Linked DNA regions of Homo sapiens: region 2 is linked to region 1. The links are contacts of gene promoters, found by promoter capture Hi-C in human tissues and cell types (Jung and others, 2019). All regions are on one chromosome and are shown on one strand. The core of a region is centred on a gene start or on the middle of the fragment in contact, and the rest is flanking DNA. Distances in the headings are between cores, read along the strand shown.

What was found. Contacts are between HindIII fragments. The study calls those that stand out against the background at their distance.
Region 2: a contact is called between a fragment that was not itself captured here and the fragment with the promoter of COMMD4 in region 1, in 3 of the 25 tissues and cell types used here (bladder, pancreas and psoas muscle).

The regions. Positions count from the first base shown.
Region 1 is chr15:75,333,154-75,338,268 of GRCh38, forward strand. It overlaps COMMD4 (COMM domain containing 4), which reads left to right and starts at 2,910. Exons shown (of 8, transcript NM_017828.5): 1 at 2,910-2,939; 2 at 4,909-4,980. The coding sequence starts at 2,937. RefSeq lists enhancers at 2,744-2,793, 3,134-3,303. The HindIII fragment of the contact is 27,503 bases long and covers 1-5,115 here.
Region 2 is chr15:75,463,522-75,468,497 of GRCh38, forward strand. It overlaps PTPN9 (protein tyrosine phosphatase non-receptor type 9), which reads right to left. Exons shown (of 13, transcript NM_002833.4): 13 at 1-4,976. Among named protein-coding and RNA genes, the nearest start is that of SIN3A, 14 kb to the left of the region's middle. The HindIII fragment of the contact is 4,221 bases long and covers 1-3,437 here.

The DNA.
Region 1 (5,115 bases), core at 1,660-4,159:
CAGGAGGCTGAGGCAAGAGAATCGCTTGAACCCTGGAGGCGGAGGTTGTAGTGAGCTGAGATTGTGCCACTGCACTCCAGCCTGGGCGGCAGAATTAAATTCCGTCTCAAAAAAAAAAGGGGGGCCGAGCGCAGTGGCTCACGCCTGTAATCCCAGCACTTTGGGAGGCCGAGGCGGGCGGATCACGAGGTCAGGAGATTGAGACCATCCTGGCCAACACGGTGAAACCCCGTCTCTACTAAAAATATAAAAAAATTAGCCCGGCGTGGTGGCGGGCGCCTGTGGTCCCAGCTGCTCGGGAGGCTAAGGCAGGAGAATGGCGTGAACCCAGGAGGTGGAGGTTGCAGTGAGCCAAGATGGCGCCACTGCACTCCAGCCTGGGTGACAGAGCGAGACTCCATTTCAAAAAAAAAAAAGAAAATCATATTGGGAAATAAAACTGCCATCTTTGGGTGTTATCTTTTCCACTGGACAGAAACCCTAAGTTAACATATATACATATTCTCAAGAATATTCATAACATATTCTGTAGTATATTTCCCTACACTAGTGGTTTTCAAAGCATGGTCTCAAATGTCACCTGGGAATATAGACACGCAATGCTCAGGCCCCACCTCAGTCCTATTGAGTTAGAAACTCTGGTGTGAGGCCCAGCAGCCGGTTTCACAAGCCCTGCAGGTGATGATGATGCACTCTAATGTGTGAGAACCACGGCTCTAAATAGTCAAATCATCTTTTTTTTTTTTTTTTTTTTGAGACGGAGTCTCACACTGTTGCCCAAGCTGACTGAAATGCAGCGGTGCAATCTCGGCTCACTGCAGCCTCCACCTCCCGCGTTCAAGCGATTCTCATGCCTCAGCCTCCTGACTGGCTGGGATTACAGGCACCCACTACCACACCCTGCTAATTTTTTTTGTTTTTTTTCAGTAGAGACAGGTTTTGCCATGTTAGCCAGGCCACCGCTCTCGAACTCCTGACCTCAGGTGATCTGCCTGCCTCGGCCTCCCAAAGTGCTAGGATTACAGGCATGAGCCACCGTGCCCAGCCTTTATTTATTTATTTATTTATTTATTTATTTATTTTTATTTTATTTTATTTTTCTGAGATGGTCTCCTTCTGTTGCTCAGGATGGATGGAGTACAGTGGTGCCATCATGGTTCACTGCAGCCTCCACCTCCCAGGCTCAAGAGATCCTCTGACCTCAGCCTCTTAGGTAGCTGGGACAACACGTGTGCACCAGGACAAGCGGGTAATTTTTTGTAGAGACTGGGGTCTCCCTATGTTGCACAAGCTGGTCTAGAACTCCTGGGCTCAAGCGATCCACCGGCCTTGGCCTACCAAAGTGCTATGATTAAAGGTCTTAACATTCTTAAAAAATTTTTTTGACATGGTTTAGGATAGTCTAGTAACTTAACGTACTGTTGTTTTCAACAGGCTAGTGGTTATGATTTGTAAAAGAACTCTTCAGAAATGAGCTCAATTTTACCATGAATTGGGGACACTTTACATTTCTATTTTATAGTGCAGTTTAATTGTCATGGGCTCTGTCTTTTAAAAACCTGAAAGCCTGCAACAATAAAACCAGCTGCACCTGTTGCATGGGATAGGCATGGAATTGAGGAGAGAGCTCAAACTACAGTCAGCCCTCTGTATCCTGAGGTTCTGGATCCTTGGATTTAACCAACTGTGCATCGAAAATATTTGGAAAAAGTAAAACAATAAAAAAACACAGGTCGGGTGCAGTGGCGGGCGCCTGTAGTCCCAGCTACTCGGGAGGCTGAGGCAGGAGAATGGCGTGAACCCGGGTGGCAGAGCTGGCAGCGAGTGGAGATCGCGCCACTGCACTCCAGCCTGGGCAACAGAGCAAGACTCCGTCTCAAAAAAAAAAATTAAAAAACTTTATAACAGCTATTTACAAAGCATTTACGTTGTATTAGGTATTATAGTAATCTAGAGATGATTTAAAGTATACGGAAGGATGTGCACAGGTTATTTGCAAATACTATGCCATATTATATCAGGGACTTGAGTATCTGTGAATTTTGGTATCTCTGGGGTCCTGGAACCAACATCCTGAGGTTACCAAAGGACGACTGTATTCAATTTTGTCTCTGGTTATTAGTCTATTCTCAAATGTATTTTTCTTGTTGTTTTGTCTTTTTGTTTTTGCCTCTTCAAGTCAATGTCGGAAACTTAGTTGTTCTAGACTACCCATTAGCTCAGAGCTACCAGTAATCAGACTACCACTGCAACCTAAGCAACCGATTTTTCTTCCCCATCAGACTGGCAAAAATTAAGATAAGCATCTATTGATGTTGAAGCTGTAGGGAGTTTTCCTGAGCAAGTAATTATGACAGCCCTTTTTGCTAGGCACCTAGATGATTCATCAAAATGAAATAAAATACCCATGCACTTGAAGAAGTTATCTGGTTTATTTCCTTACCTGGGTGCTGGTTATGTGAGGTGTACAGTTGATGAAAACTTATTAAGCTTTATAATAGGTACAATTTTCTGTATGTGTAGTAGACGTCAATAGTTTTTAAAATGTCTTTTGCCACAGCCCGCAGCTGTGAATAATGCTATTCGCTTAACAGTGGAAAACGTGTCAATGACCTGAAACACCCTGGCTCCCGGGATCCTACCCCCTTAAGTTAAACAAATGAAATAACTTCCACTGTCTTTCCTAATGTCTTAATTCGGTCCTCAGTTAAACTGGCGGTTGGCGCCAGTTTTTTCCAGGGAAGGATTCTGGGAGACGGAGGAGGAGACGCCAGCATTTCGCCCCCTGCACCTCCAGCGGGCTGCGGTCCGCTCCCGGCCTCACTCGAGCAGGCCCCGCCCTCCCAGAGGCAGTTAGTCCAAGTCACGTGATCGTCGACTCAGCTGACCCTGCGGGACCGGAAAAAGAAATTCCCGGGCCCTGGCTTCTTGGCGCGATGGTGAGGCACTAGGGGCGAAGCGAGGCTTGGGCTGCTGGAGCGGGAATGAGGGGGCGCCAAGTGGCTCCGGAAACTGGGGGAGGTTGTACTGGCCTCTCCGCAAACACAGTGTGTGCGGGCGTGAGGGCTGTGAGTCTGGTAGGGAAAAGTCCACCACTCTCCCGCTCCCGAGACGGGGGCGGGGGTACGGGGCGGGTAAGACAGAGCAGGCCGGCCGGCTTAGAGTCCCGGTGCTTCCCTGGCGGAAGGAAGGGCCCCTGCCTCCCGGGGCAGGAACTAGGGCTTGTCTGGAGCTGGGAGTCCTTTCAGGTCTTCCCCATCCCCAAGAGGACCTCCCAAGGATACCCCCTTCCCCAGCCCTGCCGTGGGGCTTGTACAAGAAGGTGCTTAGAATCAGGCTCACTCTTCCACACTGTTAGGAAGCCCCTCCGCTCTTTCCAGAGCCAGAAAGTAGTAGTTTTGGGGTTGAGACTTATCCATCCATCCATCCAATCCATCCATCCGTACGTTCTAAGCGCCTGGTCTATACCATGAAGTGTGCTAGGCACTGGGAGGACTTGAGCTGCCAAGGGAAGGGGAAATCGGAGGCTTGAATTGGAGTCATAGCTAAGGCTCCAGGGGCAGAGACCTAACTGCGCCTTGTGTGTAGTGCTAAGGGGGCTTCCTAAGGATGCCATCAAACTTAAAGGCGGATGGATGGCAGGAGCTGGCTGGCTGAAGTACAGTTTGTGTACCAGGGGTAGGGAGGCAAGGGTGGGAGACGTGTGTCTTCAGACAGGGAACAGCATGTGCAGAGACTTCAGGTTAGAGAGAGTATGGCTCCCCAGGAATGGATGCATTTCCCATAGCTGGGAGAGTATCATCTGCAGGTTAGGGAAAGATGAGGCTGGACAAGTAGAGAACAAATCTTCCTGGCTCTTGGATCACCACAATCAAGATAATGAACGTATCCACTGGCCTCCATAATTTCCTTGTGTGAGGGGCTATTTTAAGAAGTATAATCAAGAAAGGCTGTTCTGGCTGGGTGCGGTGGCTCATGCCTGTAATCCTAGCACTTTGGGAGAGTGAAGAGGGTGGATCACCTGAGGTCAGGAGTTCGAGACCAGCATGGCCATGGCACTCCAGCCTGGGCAACAGAGGGAGACTCTGTCTTATTTTTTTATTTTTTAAAAAAAGAAGGGCTGGTCTGATGTGTCACTTAAAGGATAGCAAGCCACTGGCCAGGCGCCGTGGCTCACGCCTGTAATCCCAGCACTTTGGGAGGCTGAGGGGGACGGATCACTTGAGGTCAGGAGTTCAAGACCAGCCTGGCTAACATAGTGAAACTCTGTCTCTACTAAAAATACAAAATTAGCCGAGTGTGGTGGCACATGCCTGTAATCCCAGCTACTTGGGAGGCTGAGGCAGGAGAATCACTTGAACCTGGGAAGCGGAGGTTGCAGTGAGCCGAGGTCGCGCCATTGCACTCCAGCCTGGGGAACAAGAGTGAAACTGTCTCAAAAAAAAAAAAAAAAGGATAGCAAGCCACACAGAGAGTGCAGCAGGCATGGAGGCGGGAGCAAGGCTGGTGTGCCCCAGCAGCAGCAGGGAAGCTGGAGTGGCTGGAGTTGTGTGGGTATGGGGAAGAGGGGAGAGAGTTCACTCGTCTCTGTGAGGCCCAGGACTTTGTTTTATCCCATGCTGTACCCCCAGCACTTAGAGTGGGAGCTAGCACAGAGAAGGTGCTTAATTGATGTTTGCTGAGCAGATGAATGCCTGGAGTAGACCTCAGAGCAGGGTTTGGTGGCAGGGTGGGTCAGGGAGAGAGTTTACTCAACAGCCTGGTGATAGGGGAGAACAAGAGGCCAGAGGGTATCCATCTATGTCGGGGACCAGGGGTCCCTGGTGGGCAGCAGTGTGGGAGACACACGGATCCTGGCCACACCTCAGGCCTCCCTCCAGCCTGATTACCTGCCTCCCTCCCTTGCAGAGGTTCCGGTTCTGTGGTGATCTGGACTGTCCCGACTGGGTCCTGGCAGAAATCAGCACGCTGGCCAAGATGGTTGAGTGCACAGGGTCTAGTCTGGGTGGAGGAGGGGTGTTGGGGGTGGGGATTGTGGGTGTAGAGGATGGTGAGGTTTCTCTGGGGCTAGGGCCTCAGTGCTCTCAGCCTGTGCTACCATGCTTTGTGACCTTG
Region 2 (4,976 bases), core at 77-2,576, 130 kb after region 1:
CTATGTCCACCATGGCCTTAGCCTGAAAAATATGGGCATTTAAGACTTCAGCAGGCCACATTTAGCTCAAACAGGAGGATTTTATGACAGCCAAGGTAAAGAAGGGAGATTTAAACATTGTAACAGGTTTCAAGGTGCTAGATTTTTTTTCCCCCAAGAAAACATCTCCAAGTAAAAGTGATATATTTCTATTTGTGGAGAAGATCCTAGTCTTCTCTGTAGTCAATTATGAACAGTGCAGTCTAGAACACTTGATATTCACAAGTGTTGTGTAAAGGTAACTATAGGGCGGATACCTCCTAAGAGAAAAAGATGGTTCCCAGGCTGATGGGCATTTCCATTCCTGCCCTTGGTAGGCTCACAGTGGTTTGTGGGAGTAACCAAGGCCAGAGAGAAATCTAAGGACTAGGTTGGGAGCTATAGGACCCTTGGTCTGTTCATGCTTTGCCTCTGAGAAACCCTGTAGACCCCACATTAAGAAACAGGGAAACTTTAAAGGCCTATAGGCTGGTCTTGGAGATGACAGAGACCTGACCTGCTTTTCCTCCAATTGGAAGGCCAAGGGGGAAGAGAACTGAGGGAAGCTAGGGAAGTAGCAGCAGCTTGAAAGAAGAGACTCTGAAAACACACTAAAACTGGAGAGGCTGGGTGTGGTGGCCCATGCCTGTAATCCTCTCACTTTGGGAGGCCGAGGCAGGAGGATTGCTTGAGGCTGGAGTTCGAGACCAGCCTGGGCAACATAGTGAGATCCTGTCTCTAGAGAGAGAGAGAGAAAAAAAAAAAAAGCTGGGTTCCTGCTTGAGCCCAGTTGTTGAGACTGCAGTGAGCCATGATCATGCCACTCCCCTCTAACCTAGGCAACAGAGTGAGACTCTGTCTCTGAAAGTAAAAAAAATGAAAAGTGGGGAGTGCTAGTGGGAGCCAACTCAACCCAAGTAAAGGCCTAATAGCTCCTCTATGGGTGTTTGCACTGTCTAACAAAGAACTGGACCCTGACAGTCAGAGGACCCATGGTAGGATCATCTAGTGTAGCCCCTTCTTTTACAGAGGGAACCTAGGACTTGGGTTTGGTTCAGTGGTAAGACCTCAAAACCACAAAAGAGCTGGGTCACTCTAGAGAAGCTTTTCTACTTGGCCAATGCCTCTTGGCCCAATTCCCTCTAGGTCTCTGATTTATAAAAGTTTTTGTATGTGTGTCTGTCTGTCCCAAGAGACAGGAAGCATTCCTTTCAGGGAAGGAACCAAATTTCCCTAGGGCTATGATGCTAAATAGTCCATTCTCCCAAGAACAAGTCCTACTCTGTCATTTACCTGCATACTGTCACATGAAGACTGATAAGGGTGGGCCTCCGAGGCTGAGGATGCTGGGGCACCCTTCGTCTCAGGAGTCCCATCCTAGCCAATGAGGATGGGCAAGATGAAGGGAGCAATGGGAAAAAGGACACAGGGATTATCTCATGTTTGAAAAATTATATAGCATGGGAATGTTAGAGAAAGGTGAAACAAACAGCCATCAAATCAGAAGCAGAAGCCTGCTTTAGCTCAGTGTTTTCTTCTTTCCTGAACACTGTCTTTCTTTTTTATTTATTTATTTTTTTTGAGATGGAGTTTTACTCTTGTTGCCCAGGCTAGAGTGCAATGGCGCGATCTCGGCTCATTGCAACCTCTGCCTCCCAGATTCAAGTGATTCTCCCATTTCAGCCTCCCGAGTAGCTGGGATTACAAGCACATACCACCACACCCGGGTAATTTTTATATTTTTAGTAGAGATGGGGTTTCATCATATTGGTCAGGCTGGTCTCAAACTCCTGACCTCAGGTGATCTGCCCACCTCGGCCTTCCAAAGTACTGGGATTACAGGCATAAAGCCACTGCACTTGGACCCTGAGCATTTTCTCTTGCTTTGTTCACTAAGTCTCCTGTATGAGAACCCTGACTTGCCAAACAGATTCTGGGTTGCGTCTCTGCCTTCCCTTTCCTTTACCTCCTCCTTTAACACCTAACACAGGTAGGTTCACGCTGGTAAAAGCTACAAACAATGGCAGTGGGAGGAGTTCCTCTGAGTTTTACTGAAAATTTAGGAGACATCAATTTGTTAACTCTCTATAGGGTCAGAAACATGAACTAAATCTATGGTTCCCAAACCTGGATAATCCTGTCACTCACTAACAACCTACTGGATGGGCCCAGAAATCAGCATTTTATGGAGCTGAAGTGATAGATAACCTCACCAGTCTTCAGATATGCAATGAGGAACTCATGCATAACCTTAAATTCACAGGGCAGTCGGGTTACAGCCTCTTCAAATAAATGACAATTTAAAGTTACCTCCTCCAGGCCGTTTATCATTAATCCCATTTCTTACATGTTCCACCAAACCCCTGACCTCTCTGGTTTCTCAGATTTCCAAGAATCTCTGTTCACTTCTTATGTTTGTGCACTCCCAAGAGAATGGAGGCTCATCTGGAGAAGGAACTAGATTAATCTTCTGCTCTACACTTGAGCTCCTGATTATGGTAAGAAACTCGATAAAAATTTATTGGCAGATCAGAAGATGGATCCTTAGAGGAAGTCTAGTGTAAGAGGTGAAAGAAGATACTTTGGAGTCAGATGGTCTGGGATCCTGGCTGTAGCAAATTAACATTCCTGTCTCTCAATTTTTTTCTTCTGTCAATACCTACCTCAAAAGGTTGTTGAGGGTGAATGAGATGATACCTAGAAATTACTCTGAACAGTGCCTGGAATAGAGTGAGCATCCAGTAAATTGGCTGCTATGACTATTATTAAGAACACCCCAATATTTCCCAGCCACAACTGCCCCAACTGGGCAGGCCATCAACAGCCAACAGGTATGATATGGGGAGTGGTCTTCCATGTACAAAGCTTCTGGTTCCTTTCTTTCTAAGAGATAAATGCAAATGACTCAAGATCTTCTCACAAAGACCATGTACCCATAGATATGGAGTCTCCTGGGGAGAATGATAACCCCTTTGGTACGCTGCAGACATGAGGACCCTACATCAGGAGGTCCTAGCTAGGACAGTCAGTCACCAACCCTGTCACCCTTCGCGTCTACTACATGAAGCATGGGCACAAGAACAACAACCTGGAATTTAAGAACTTTTTTTACTCTGAAAGGAGAGCTAAACAAACCTCTGTTCTCCAAACACAAGATCTCCATCTTCCATGCAGTGAAGAGACCACAGGCTTTGTAAGCAGACCAACTTGAGCTCGTTTTAGAGCAAATCACTGTAACCCTCTGGACCTCACCTTCCTCATCTATATAGAAATGAGAAAGGGGTGCACAGGAGAAGGGAGAGAAGATAATATCTCACTGAATTGTTGTGAGGTTTGAATGAGGCAGGGTGGGGGAAAAGCACCTAGCATAGTGCTTAGCACATCTCAAGCACTGAACTGGTGCTGGTCCCTCTGTCCAGAGATAGGGCCATGGCCTACAGACAAGGTGAACTCATAGTGTCAGAACTCAAAGTCTCAGATACTGAAGGCTTGGGTCCCTCCCTGCCTCCCTCATCCCTCCCAGACCAGCTCCTGGACCCCCTCCCTCATGTCCCAGGCTGCTAAATTGATGAAGCTAAAAGGGTTTTGATCATGTCGGTATATTTATATGTAAATACAAAACTGTATCACTGTAAGATATTGAATATGAACATTACAATTATTTTCTGAATCAGACTCAGTCCATTGATATTAAATACAAAATGAAATGATTGTAAAAAATAATAATATACACATTCAAAGAGCTTATTACAGTATAAAATTATTGAGGTCTGATCAGCTGCCAACCTCATCTTCTGTCACAGGGGAAGGTTTAGGAGTTCCTGGGATTTTTTGGGAATGTGGAGTGCTGAGGACTCTTGATTTATCCCTAGCACATAAGGATGAGTGGGCTGGGAGCAGGCAGGGACAGGTTGGGTGGGTAGGGGACAAACAGTGATTGCAGGGGACCACCTCACTCAGCCAGGGGGTGAAGCTTTTTATTGACACAGAACCCACCCAGTTTGAGGGTCTAGCAGGCTAGCAGGCAGGAAGAGATGGGCATCTCGGTAGACAGGGCCAAGCTGCATAAAGGAACCATCCAGCAAAAGAAAAAGGGCCCCAGCTCATCCTCCCAGGGAGGTATTTTCTTAGTGGTTTTTTCTTTCTCATACCTGGGCTCCCCCTCCTTCCTTCTAAGATTCGTACCGATTGCATTTGGCTCTGGCTGCTCAGTGAGTTCATCTCTACCCTCCGCCTCCCATCCCTGGGATAGTGAAAGCAAAGAGAGAGTATGGAATCACAGTGGAGGTCTGTTCCCCAAATTGGCCAAGTAAATGTAGAAAAATCATCGGATAAGGGAAATCCATGCTGAGCTAACCCAGTGTCACCACAAACTAATACATTCTTGGCTCCAACAGGTGGCAACTGGAAGGAGATAAGTCATTACTTAAGGAAGGGGCCCTGTGGCAGGAACATGGAGGAGATGTGTGTGTGTCCTCTTCCACCACTCTGTAGCCTGACAAGAGGAGACATGATCACCAACCCAAGCTAGTCCAGGATAAATAGTAGGGTCCAAGAAGCAAGGAGTCCTGAACTGCAACACGGAGCCCCAGGAACTTCTGGAAAGGAGTATCGTGTGTATATGTATTTATAGAATACGATCATATTATCACATACAATATATATTATATACACACGTACATATGGACCCATACACATAAGTGCACACACACACACACACAGAATGACAGAAAGGACTGGAATACACGCCCTACTTATAAACGTGCTTGGCACTCAGGACGATCTCTAGAATATGTAACTTGGTCAAGCTCTCTGGGGAGAAAGGCAAATGCTCATCAAACCTCCCCATAAAATCCTAGGAAAGGGAAGGAGTGGGAGACAGGAGACCTCAGAAAAAGAATGGCGGGAGAAAGGAGGAGGGAGGTTCCTTCCCCACTTACCTCGGGGACCCTAGCAAA